Regions from separate parts of the Homo sapiens genome. Here region 1 is linked to region 2. The links are contacts of gene promoters, found by promoter capture Hi-C in blood cells and fetal thymus (Javierre and others, 2016). All regions are on one chromosome and are shown on one strand. Each heading gives the region's core, a stretch centred on a gene start or on the middle of the fragment in contact. The rest is flanking DNA. Distances are from core to core; before and after follow the strand shown. Region 1 overlaps SPATA2 (spermatogenesis associated 2). Region 2 holds the start of STAU1 (staufen double-stranded RNA binding protein 1).

Region 1 (3,222 bases), core at 49-2,548, 730 kb before region 2:
ATGGAATGAGATCATGCAGGGCCTCTGGCATACAGCAGGCGTCCAATAAGTGATAGTTCCTGTTACTTCATTCAATTCACGAAGCCGTAGGGGGGGCCAGAATTTGAGACTGGGCTGTTTTTCACAACTGACGTGGCCCCCCGAGGCTGTAGGAATGACCGAGCTGGGACTTAGCAGCCGCCAGCTTCTGTCCCCTGCAGGGAGGGAAACAGCTTCCTTCAGAGCTTCTCCGAGAGAGGCAGCTGCCACTAGGGAAGCTTCTTTCAGCACCGCTGAGGTTATTTTCAGAGGTTTGGAAGGACTCTGTGTGAATTTCTTTGGAATCTAGTAGGAGTGTGGGGACCTTCTGGTGTTTCACAGCCAGTGGAAGGTGCCTTGGATGTTTCTCGGAGCCTCTTGCTTGGAACGAGTGCATTGGTGTGGGTGGGGAGGTGGAGGGGGTTGAACTGACTTCCCCGTCTCCTGTTTGGAGGCTGATGGAGCTAGACCAGGGATGTGTAAACCTGTGGACAGGGGCAGTGCACAGACCAAAATAGGTCTGCCTGTGCAGAGAGGGGGCGCCTTCAAATGCTGCTTGGGGAACATTTCTGCTTGAATGGGCCAGCTGAGGTAAAGCCAAGCTAATGCTTAGCTACTCGGAATCACTTCACTTCCATGCAGTGGGACTCTAAACAGATACAGCTTTCCTCTTAGATGTTCAAAAAATAACTAAAGAAGCCACTGGCTCCCTGACTGTGCAATATCTCTTTTTCCATTGACTTGCTTTTCAAGAAGGTACCTAGATTGTGGGTGCAGGAGGTGCTGACTGGAGCCGTTGACTCTGGGCACCTGCCTGTCTCTGTGTTCAGGATATTCACAGTGCTGTTTTTTTGTTTTTTGGGTTTTTTTTTTTTTTTTTTTCCACCAGACTGGCACGGCTTGGCGTTCCAATCCTTGGGTTGCTTGGAGAAATTAGCAGCTTCTGTCGCTGGGCTGTCTCGGTCTCCTGTAACCACGATGTTTTTGCAGAGAGCGTATTTTGTTGTTCTTGCAGAGTGCTGGGAATGAATTGCTGGCTCTGTGCTCAGAAAAAACACCAGCTATGACCAGCTACAAGGCATCTTGTATTCTCAGAAAATGTTTTCAGCAGGGATGATGTCAGCTGCTTCATCACTGGCCGATGTCTCTGACCAGCCTCTTTCCTTGGCCCTTGAGCTTACATCATATAGAGATTAGCTCTCCTAGCCCCATTCGGTGTGGGAAGATGGGAATTTTGCTACTACAGGAATTTTTGTAACTCAACTCTGCTCGCGCCGCCATAAGGCATTCTAACTTAGCCAAACACTTTCGAGTAGAGCTGTCCAGCAGATGCAGCAGGATGGCTTTGCAAGAGTCGGAGTTTTGGCGTTAGACCTAGGTTCAGAGCTCAGATCCACTTCTTCCTAGCCTTACGACTTAGGGTAAGTGAGTTGGCCTCTCCGAGCCTCAGTTTCCTCTTTAACCTTGGATCTATCCTGTGGATTTCATTGGTTTTCACAGAGCAGTTAGCAGAGGGATGCCACACAGTAATCCCTTGGTAAATGGTACTGATGTAACAATAAATGAGTGAGGTAAATTGGAGAAAGCCCAGGCATCAAGGGCCTCCCAGCAAGAGTTCAGATTCCAGCTCTGACCCTTTCAAACTCTGTTGGGCAGGTTGTTTTAATGGGAAGAGCCTGTTTTCCTTATAGAGTTGTGAGGATTAAATGGGATGATGTAGGTAAAGTGGGAAGCCCAATGCTTAGCACATAGTAGAACCTCAGTAATTGTTAGTCTCTTTCTTTCCTTTCCTTATTGACTGATTGAGACAAGGTCTTGCTCTGTCACCCAGGCCGGAGTGCAGTGGTGCCATCATAGCTCACTGCAGCCTCAAACTCCTGGGCTCAGTGGATCCCCCCACCTCAGACTCCCAAGTAGCTAAGACTACAGGTGGGTGTCACCACACCCACCTAATTTTTTTTTTTTTTTTTTTTGTAGAGACGGAGTCTAACTATGTTGTCCAGGCTTGTCTTGCCCTTAATTATCTTTTAGCTTTTACTTTCTTCCGCCTTTTCCCTCACCTACCCAGGTTGGTTTGAGATTTGTTTTAGATAGGCTTCCTGTCCTTATTGTGAGTATTTTGAACATCAGCTGGGCTGTTTGGATCCCTTTCCTTTATTTATTGTTTTTCAGCAACAAACAAGGGTGTGGACTGTGGTGCGATTATAGAGCAGCAGACGCTGAGCCGAGCTTGAGACTGGCTGACTTTGTAAAAAATCAGTCTCTTTGAGTTCAAGGCTGACTTCCTTGGAGAAAAATTACAGCAGTATTCGGAAGCTTAATGTCTCTGTGTTTGAATGGTTCTCAGACTACCAAAAAACAGACCCTGGGGCCAGAGGCGTGATGGCAGCTTCTCTTAGATAAGTCAAGAATGGTAAATGCATGTGTGACTATCCTCTCCAGTGGTGCAATACATTTATTTATGTAGAGATGGAGTTTTTGCTCTGTTGCCCAGGCTGGAGTGCAATGGCACGATCTCAGCTCACTGCAACCTCTCCCTCCTGGGTTCACGCCATTCTCCTGCCTCAGCCTCCTGAGTAGCTGGGATTACAGGTGTTCGTCCAGCTAATTTTTGTATTTTTAGTAGAGGCGGGGTTTCGCTATGTTGGCCAGGCTAGTCTCAAACTCCCAATCTCAGGCGATCCACCCACCTTGGCCTCCCAGAGTTGTAGGATTACAGGCGTGAGCCACCGCGCCTGGCCTGCATTTTTATTTTTTAAGAGAATATACATTTTAAATTGTTTATTTTTTTATGGACAGAACAGTATGAAGTTAGAGCACATACCTACTTTGATACTAGGTGGTATGCTCTTCCAGCTAGAGCTGCAGGCAGGATGTGTCTCCTTTATTGCTGTCCTCTACCTGTCCCACCCATCCCCATTCCCCGACTGGGTCCAGCTCAGGCAGAGGGTGGGGGCTGCAGAAATGCTTGCTGGACATGGGAATCGTGGGGTGGTGAGAGGAATACAGGTTCCAAGTCAGAAGGCCAGGCTTGGATTATCGGGTCCATCATCTGCTAACCTTGAGCTACTTGTCGTACCTCATGCCATCTTTCTGAGCCCGTTTCTTTGCTCTCCAGCTGATCTCCCAGGATTCTTGGGAGGTACCAATGAGAAACTAAAGTGATGGCATCGTGAATGCAGACATCCTTTGCAGCATCCATTT
Region 2 (3,294 bases), core at 85-2,584:
CTGAGTGTGCAGAAGTTCAAGATTCTTTTTTTTTTTTTTTTTTTTTTTGAGACAGAGTCTCACTCTGTTGCCCAGGTTGGAGTGCAATGGCGTGATCTCGGCTCACTGCAACCTCCGTCTCCCGGGTTCAAGAGATTCTCCTGCCTCAGCCTCCCAAGTAGCTGTGATTACAGGCGCCCACCACTGCATCCGGCTAGTAGAGACGGGGTTTCACCATGTTAGTCAGGCTGGTCTCGAACTCCTGACCTCAGGTGATCCGCCCACCTCGGCCTCCCAAAGTGCCGGGATTACAGGCGTGAGCCACTGCGCCTGGCCAAGATTCTTTACTGGCCACCCTCTCTCCAACCTCCCATACAATACAGCTGCTAAAAACCACTTAGTTTATCTAGGTCTGGGTGAAATAAATAGTAATCTGGCACTTCTCGTCTTTTTTTTTTTTTTTTTTTTTTTTTTTTTTTTTTTTTTTGAGACCAGTGTCTCTTTGTCGCCAAGGCTGGAGTGCAGCGGCGCGATCTCAGCTCACTGCAATCTCCGCCTCCCGGGTTCAAGCGATTCTCCTGCCTCAGCCTCCCGAGTAGCTGTTTACCTACAGGCGCCCGCCACCACGCCCGGCTAATTTTTTGTATTTTCAGTAGAGACGGGGGTTTCACCGTGGTAGCCAGGATGGTCTCGATCTCTTGACCTAGTGATCCGCCCGCCTCGGCCTCCCAAAGTGCCGGGATTAGAGGCCTGAGCCAACGCGCCCGGGCCATTGTCTTTTATCTCACTACACATTTTTCAATTTTATTTATTGTGTATTTTACTTACACAAGAATGTAAGCTCCACGAGGGCAGGGATTTTTGTCAGTTCACCACTACATTCTTAGCTCTTGGAGCAATGCCTTGCATATGGCAAGCATTTAATGAACATTTACAGATGGAGGAAGAAACAACTGCAGGAAGGAGAGAAAGGAAGGCCAGAGGCAGGACAAGAGGAAGAAGCGACAGCAAGGAAGGAAAAAGGAAGTGGAGGAGGAAAGAAGGTAGGCTGGGTTCTCCCAGACCCGCTTCGAGTCCAGCAGGCAGCGCGAAACTCCCACCAGAACTACAACTCCCGGCAGGCCCCGGGACTCAGGACGGGCCGCTGCGGTCCAGGCGGGACAGGGCGCTCCTCCCGCTGGGCCCCCGGCGTGCCTTGCGAGCGCAGGCTCCGCCGCAGTGCCAGCCGGAACTTGTGGTTCGGACCGTGGGTGGGGGTGGGGCCGGGGCCGGGCCTGGAGGCGGGCGGGGGCCGGGGGCGGGCGCCTGCCCCTCCCCCGTCACTTCCTGCCGGGCTGCGGGCGCCTGAGCGGCTCTTCAGCGTTTGCGCCGGCGGCTGCCGCGTCTCTCTCGGCTCCCGCTTCCTTTGACCGCCTCCCCCCCCCGGCCCGGCGGCGCCCGCCTCCTCCACGGCCACTCCGCCTCTTCCCTCCCTTCGTCCCTTCTTCCTCTCCCTTTTTTCCTTCTTCCTTCCCCTCCTCGCCGCCACCGCCCAGGACCGCCGGCCGGGGGACGAGCTCGGAGCAGCAGCCAGGTGAGGCGGCCGGGCCGGGCCGGGCCTGGTGGGGCCCTCGCGGGCGCCGCCGCGGTGGGGAGGTGGGCGGCGGGTGGGGCCTAGGCCTCGGCGGGCCCGCGCACCCCTCCGCCTTCTCCCGGGCCTCTCTCTAGCCCGCGGGGCCTTCCCGGAGGAGGCGGGTCCTCTTGCGTTCCCTCGCCTCGGGGCGCCCTGAGGCCTGGCCCCGGGCGCCCCCATCCCCTCCAGCCCTCACCGGTGCCACAAACAGGTGCTGCGGCCGCCTTTCCTCGTCCCGCATGGCGCGCGCGGGGATGCCGAAGTTATTCCCGGGGCTGGGGCGCAGGCGGGGGGGGGGGGGGGTCCCTGCTTCAGGTCCCCGAGGGCTGGAGCCTCTCAGTGTCGCCGGCCCAGGTCTGTAGCTTAGTGGTTAAGAGCACGGCCCAGGTGTCCAAAACGGGTGCCGAACCCGGCTCTGCCCCGTTAGGCAAGACACTTAAAAAGTCTTTGTGTCTTGGTTGGAAAAGGGGCTGCTAATACCGTCCCTGCCTCTTAAGGTTCAGTGAAATGGGGCGTGTAAAGCGCTTATCAGAGTGCCAGACCCACAGCGTGTCCCAGTAAACCGTCTGCATAATTTATTAGCGTGATATGAAGGTATAATTTAATGGGCAGAGTGGATAGAAGTTGACCTACCTATCCGTTTGGGTTTCTTAGAGGCTGCAGTGTTCCGCGTGCCCATGTCCAGAGCCAGGGCATTGTTTTCAGTTGTTAACATCTGAAAGGGGCGTACGCTTAATTGGGACACTGTAGTTGACAGTCTGTAAACGATGGATGCTGTTTCTTTCCATCTCCGCTTAGGCAACTGCAGGATATTCACCATCTCCCGCAGGATGAGCAACCTGTCCATTTCTCCCCGCCCCGCCATCATCCAGCTTCTTCTTGTCATTCCATTTCTGGGAAAGTTGCTGGCAGAAGCTTCCCTTGAGTTGAGCAAACCTATCTAGAGCACTTGCTGTGTGTTGGGCTCTGAAGGGGGGTGTACGGAGATGGAAAAATTTGTCTGTCTTGTCTTGCTCTACACCTCGATAAGTTTTTTTTCACGGAAGCTTTGCTTATATTCACCCCTCCCTGTTGGCTGACTTTCCTTTTAAGCCCTTGCCCCGCCTCCGTGTTGCAGTATTGCTTGTGTGGAAGTTTTCTTCTGTTCCGCGAAGATACGTGCTTCAGTCTGTTCTGCCACTGTTCTTCGGCTGTGTGGAAGTTTTTAAGGTCACACTTCTCTTCTGCTTGTAGCTTTCATTGTTAAGAGCGTGGTGGAGTTAAATCAGGTTCCCGGTTGATTTTGGCGTTTCAGGAATCCGTGCTTACCAAGTGTAAATTGCATTGCTACTTGTTGAGGTAAAAACTAAAAATACAGTTGGAGTGTAGAGGGAGCAGTTTCGGTTATCCTGGTGACAGGTGGGATTTTTAGAACAGCAACTTTACTAAAACATACTGGGTTTTTAAAAATTCTGTACTTAGTTTTATAGGTGTACTCTAAGGAAATGCAACTTATGGGTGTTCAATTTTATATGAGTAAGGAGTGTGTGTTTACCTGAGTGATCCTCCTGTATCTTAGGATTGTTTTAGGCATTAAATTTCCTTAGTGAACTGAAACTATTTTGATTTATACCCATCTCTTAACACACATGCGGCAAAGTGGCCTCCTTGTTTTTGACATTTTCCTAGAATTTTCTGACAGTCTTACCATTGTTTGTAATTTA

The links. The method cuts DNA at HindIII sites, captures the fragments that hold promoters and counts their contacts. A CHiCAGO score of 5 or more calls a contact.
Region 1: a fragment that was not itself captured here is called in contact with the fragment with the promoter of STAU1 in region 2 in 2 of 17 cell types (fetal thymus and naive CD8 T cells); the score reaches 8.7 in fetal thymus.

Annotation. Positions count from the first base shown.
Region 1 is chr20:49,911,709-49,914,930 of GRCh38, reverse strand. The region is part of intron 1 of SPATA2 (spermatogenesis associated 2); the gene reads left to right. Among named protein-coding and RNA genes, the nearest start is that of SPATA2, 2.2 kb to the left of the region's middle. RefSeq lists an enhancer at 215-384. The HindIII fragment of the contact is 2,077 bases long and covers 260-2,336 here.
Region 2 is chr20:49,186,374-49,189,667 of GRCh38, reverse strand. STAU1 (staufen double-stranded RNA binding protein 1) reads left to right here and starts at 1,334. Exons shown (of 14, transcript NM_017453.4): 1 at 1,334-1,552. RefSeq lists silencers at 1,061-1,730, 1,961-2,120 and an enhancer at 2,521-2,590. The HindIII fragment of the contact is 4,529 bases long and covers 1-2,508 here.